2 separate regions of the Homo sapiens genome follow, and region 2 is linked to region 1. Evidence: promoter capture Hi-C in human tissues and cell types (Jung and others, 2019). All regions are on one chromosome and are shown on one strand. Each heading gives the region's core, a stretch centred on a gene start or on the middle of the fragment in contact. The rest is flanking DNA. Distances are from core to core; before and after follow the strand shown. Region 1 holds the start of ZBTB26 (zinc finger and BTB domain containing 26). Region 2 overlaps RABGAP1 (RAB GTPase activating protein 1).

Evidence for each region. The method cuts DNA at HindIII sites, captures the fragments that hold promoters and counts their contacts. A contact is called where the count stands out against the background at its distance.
Region 2: a contact is called between a fragment that was not itself captured here and the fragment with the promoter of ZBTB26 in region 1, in 1 of the 25 tissues and cell types used here (mesenchymal stem cells).

The regions. Positions count from the first base shown.
Region 1 is chr9:122,930,108-122,932,807 of GRCh38, forward strand. It overlaps ZBTB26 (zinc finger and BTB domain containing 26), which reads right to left and starts at 1,405. Exons shown (of 2, transcript NM_020924.4): 1 at 1,330-1,405. It also overlaps a transcript of RABGAP1 not described here. RefSeq lists a silencer at 1,177-1,516. The HindIII fragment of the contact is 7,569 bases long and covers 1-2,700 here.
Region 2 is chr9:122,975,694-122,978,393 of GRCh38, forward strand. All of the region lies in intron 2 of RABGAP1 (RAB GTPase activating protein 1), which reads left to right. Among named protein-coding and RNA genes, the nearest start is that of RABGAP1, 36 kb to the left of the region's middle. The HindIII fragment of the contact is 3,118 bases long and covers 1-2,700 here.

The sequences.
Region 1 (2,700 bases), core at 155-2,654:
CTCTAGCTACAATGTTTAGGCTGAGCTAAAGATTTGCATTTCCAACTCCATGCTGGACAGCTCTATGTGTCTGTCTCATTAGACCTTTAATTCAACATGTCCAAAAAATGAATTCATAATCTACACTAAGCTTATGGCTTTATTTCTGATAATGGCATTACCATCCTTCAGCTCAGAGGTCTAAAACCTAAGAATTAGATTTGGTCCCTCACACTTCTTCAGCATTCAGTTAATTATGGAGTCTTGACATAATCATCTCCAGTATATTTGTCTCCTTACCAATGACACCATTATAACTTATTTCAGGAATTTTTTGCCTCTCACTAGGCTGATCCCATTACCCCTTCAAAAGAATCTCCGATAAGCGTTCCTAACTTTTAGCTAAATGTCTAAATGCAGTTAATAGAAAGTCCCTTCTCTATGGGCTTTCTACAGAACAAAATGATTTCCTGCAGTGCAAATCTGACCATATCAATATTCTGTTCCGAACTCTTCAAAAAACTACCCATCTCCTTTAGGATTACACCATTCACCATCTGGACCTCGGTCGACTTTCCCAGTCTCATATCCATTCTGTGCATAGGAGTCCCCCCATTTCCTCCTCTTCCCACACAAGTTATGCTCAGTCATTTCTCCACAGTATTGCAACTGTCTTCCCTGAAAAACTCTTCAACACTTTACTCTCTCCAAGTACAATTCAGACATCACTTTCTTTCTAAAGCCTTCTCAGCAACGGCCCCTTGAGCAATTAACACATATGTGACTGATACATACATACATATATATACACATAGGAGTACTTATTTGTTCAGATCTGGCTCCCAAACTTAATCCCGAAAACTGGAACAATATCTTGCCAATCTCCAGTGTCTGGTATAGCGCCAGTAATATAAAAGGTGCTGCGACCAGTGGCCAAATAGGGGAAAACCCCAGCAAAAGGGTAACCTAGCACTCACAGTGGTTCTCAAAGACTGGCACTGAATGCCTGGTCTTGGGCTGGCTCCCGAGGCTCGTTTTCTTAGGGCCTCACCTCTGGCACTTCTTATAAGATGCCAGAGTCAGGCCCCCAAGCCAACTGCTGGGCCCTCAGCTGGGGTCCTATGAGGCGGTCCCAGGGGCATCCTCAGGCTCCCCACTCCAGTCACAGGGAAGGGAAAGGGGCGGGGCGCAGCGTGGGCCGGGCCAAGGGCTCCTCAAGTCCCCAGGGGCCTAGGCCAGCCTCTCGGCTCCCATCCCAGTGCAGGTCCCGGTTGATCCAGGGCCCCAGGGGGGTTCCATTTTGAGACACCCCGCACCCCAGCCCGCCGCTCCGGCCGTCTCCGCACTTACAGACCCGGGGGAAGGCCGCCGTCAGGATCCGGCACCGCCAGGAGCTCCGGCCCCTCGGGGCTCCGGGAAGGGGGAGGGGCAAGGAACCCGAGCCAAAGGGGGACCCAACGGAACCGGAAGGGCAGCCCTGGCCGGACAAAGACAACTTCCAGGTCCCATGGTCCTCTCCGCCAATCGGAAGGCTCGGAGGACAACAGGGGCCCCGAGAGGGAATTTCTGCGTTGTGGGCGGGGCGCAGACGGAGGGCACCGTACTCTGGGCACTAGCTTCACTGCCTACTACCCCGAGGTGCCTTAGCTCGTAAGCGTCTGTGGCTCAGGCCCTGTGCGCCTCGCAGGGACCCGCTGCTCGGGACCCCCGTCTCAGCGGCTCTTCTGTAGCTGGGCCTAGACGGTCCGCTGCCTCCTTGGGCCTGAAGGGCTCCTCTGCACTTAAACTTTGGTAAGTCTTTTTAGCCTAGGGGTGTAGACTCGTCGCGCGGGAGCCCGAAGAGCAGAAAGCTCTCCCCTCACTTTTGGATGTGTTTTTCAGGGTTCTTGCCTTGGAGTTCTTCCTAGGGCAAACTCTTGCACTCCCATGGCTTCCGTTACCTACTTCATGCTGACCATTCACAACCCAGGCAGCTACATGGACGAGATCTCCAGCTGTCCTGATGTGAAAGTACCTTTTAATGATCTCAAGTTCATCTCATCTCCTATCCAGACCGGAAAACTTGAGGATCCTTCTAGAGTTCTTTTCCTTGCCAATCCAGTTTACTGGTTTTTGACCATTCTTTTCGTTTTTGGTGGTGGTGAGGGGCTTTTTATTGAGGTAAAACATGCGTAATGTTTATTACTTTAATCATTTGTAAGTGTAAAACTTGATGGTCTTGAACTCTGGAGTTAAAGTGATCCACCCTCCTCAGCCTCCCAAAGTGCTGGGATTACATGTGTGAGCCACTGCTCCCAGCCTTTCCCTCTTTTTAATGTAGTTATTTACAACTATACATTTCACTTTGATCACTGTTTTCACTACAGCTCATAAGTTTTTGTATGTTGTGTTATTTTCATTCATTTCTAAGTATTTTCTAATTTCCCTTTTGATTTCTTCTTCTTTTTTTTTCTTTTTTTTGAGATGGAGTTTCGCTCTTGTTGCCCAGGCTGGAGTGCAATGGTGTGATCTCGGCTCACCGCAACCTCCGCCTCCTGGGTTCAAGCGGTTCTCCTGCCTCCGTCTCTAAAGTAGCTGGGATTACAGGCATGCGCCACCACACCGGGCTAATTTGATATTTAGAGATATGGAGACGTGGTTTCTCCGTGTTGGTCAGGCTGGTGTCGAACTCCCGACCTCAGGTGATCCACCCGCCTTGGCCTCCCAAAGTGCTGGGATTAC
Region 2 (2,700 bases), core at 124-2,623, 46 kb after region 1:
ATTGGATGCTATTTGGCAGGTACTGTGGTGTGAGAGTTAAATGAGATAGTTCTGTAAAAACCACACGATACAGTGCCTGAAATATACGTAAGTGCCCAATAATGTTATCAAACCCTAATAACAATCCTGTGAGATAGATATTAACATCCTCATTTTAGAGATGAGACAGTTGGGGCTCCCAGACATTAATTTGCCCTCAGTTACAGAGTTAATGTCAGAGCAATGTCCCAAAGCCAGATATGTCTTACTTGGGAGTCCAAGTATGGCTACTAAGTTCAGTTGCATAGGCTTTGCACACTACAGTTCTAGTGAGAGCCATTCAGATAATCTGTGCTGTGAATGGGGTGCCTCTTGGAGTTGTGCCACAAAACAACTCTGGGCCCAGTTTTTTTTAGTACCACCCTGCTATGTAAGCAGAATTATGAATAAACAATTCATCATGCAGTCTCCATCCCTGCAAACGTTTATGTCATATGTTTACAGTAGCTGCTAAATGCTAAATTGGCCTTTTTATGTTTATTGTTTTCCTTAACAATTCAGGACTTTCCTAAAGAACTGTTCCTTTTAATGTAGAGTACATGGAAATAAACACAAATCTAAATGTAATTCTTAGTTGTACTATTCATAAATATTTGTTTTGCTTTTTTTGTCTTCATATTTGTGCTAAATTACATTAGAAGTCTTTGTTGGACTTCAAAATATATTGTTTGTGTTTTGCACTGGGCTCTTTGCAGTGTTCTTATTGTAAATGTTAGCCCTTAATGACACTTGCTCAGAATAATGAAAACAGATGGTATTTGTTTTTGTTTTTGTATTTTAGTAGATAAAGCTAAAGTCATTCAGATTTCCTTTCTATAATTAAACCAAAATTTGTAGAATATTCAGTATCCAAGTAGGATAAAATCATACTGCTTTGGCTTCCATTCTTTGCATTTGTAACATTCAGTTCAGTAAATATGTATTTCAGGTGTATTTTGTCCCAGTCACTATCTGAAGCTTTGGGGATATAAAGATAATTTAACAAACAGTCTCTGCCCAGTCTGGTTCAAGGGACTCTCTAAACAAATATTTTCTAAAACAAGTAGCAATGCTAGAATAAACATATATGCTAATATTATGGTAGCCCTGAGGAGGGAGTGATTAAATCCTATCTAGAACGGTTAAGATCTCCCAGAGGAGATAACAGAATTTAAGGTTGGTCTTAAAGAATACACAGGAGGAGAGGATGACTTTCCAGGAAAGGAAACACTCTATACAAAGTATGGGTGCTTGAAAGTTTATGGTGGGTCCTGGGAAAGTTGAGTAGTTTGCTGTGACTAAGTGACTGGAAAGGCAGATTGAGCAGAGTTGTGAAAAGACTAATAGGATATACTTATGAATTTGGGCTTTATCTTGTGGGCATTGAGGAACCATGGAAGGATTTAAAAACAAGGCAGTGCTTGATCACAACTAAGACTGGCAATTATAAGTTGAATGGTGGCCATATGTGAAAGAGAAGAGAGAGAAAGAAGGCAGGCAAACTACTAACTGCAGTAGGCTTACGTAAAATGAAAGAGGTTGTCCTAAGGTATTAGCTATGCAGAGAAGATAGAAGGGAAAAATGGACAGACAAGGGTCAATAGGATTTGTGAGTTATATGGGAATGAGAGAAATCAAGGATGATTGTAATTCTTAATTTGGCCATGGAGTGAATGGTAGTGCAACTCATTGATTAAAAAAGGATGCAGGAGGGCTGGGTTCGGTGGCTCATGCCTGCTAATCCCAACAGGGAGGCCAAGGCGGGCAGATACTTGAGGCCAGGAGTTTGAGACCAGCCTGGCCAACATGGTGAAACCCACCCCATCTCTACCAAAAATACAAAAATCAGCTGGGCGTGATGGCGCATGCCTGTAATCTCAGCTACTCGGGAGGCTGAGACATGAGAATCGCTTGAACCCAGGAGGCAGAGGTTGCAGTGAGCAGAGATTGCGCCACTGTACTGCTCAACCTGGGCGGCAGAATGAGACTGTGTCTCAAAAAGAAAAAAAAAAGCAGGAAGAGGATCAGTGGCTTAAGTTTTGGACAGAATAAGTTTGATGTATCCAACTGAAGGTCTCTATCCAGTAGACAGTTGAGGAAGGGATTGTAGATAGAGATTTGAGATTGTTTGTTGTTGGGAGTAGATACCATACAGTGGCACAGGAGAGTCTAATAACGTGAAGTTAATGCCAAAGACAGAATCCTGGATGAGCACCTTTAGTAGGGTACATAGAAAAAAAGGAACAGTTGTGTTCTCAAATTGCATCTTTTGTGGAAATCATACTTTTTCTGTTTTATTTTAGGTCAGATTTTTTGAGGTAAAATTTACACCAATAAAATGCAACCCTCTTAGTTGTACAGTCCTGAGTTTTAACAAATGTAAAGTCTCATGTAACGACCAGCACAGTCAAGATGGGGAATACTTTTATTACTCCCAAAAGTCCCCTCGTGCATCTATTTAGTCATACCTTTATTCCCCTTCCCTGATAACCAGTGATCTGATTTCTGTCCCTATAGTTTTGTCTTTTCCAGAATGCCAGGTAAATGGAGTCATACAGTATGTAGTCTTTTTGTGTATGGCTTCTTTTACATAGAATAATGCTTTTGAGATTTGTCCATGTTATTGTGTGTATTAGTAGTTTATTCCTTTTTATTGCTTAGTAGTATTCCATTTTATAGATC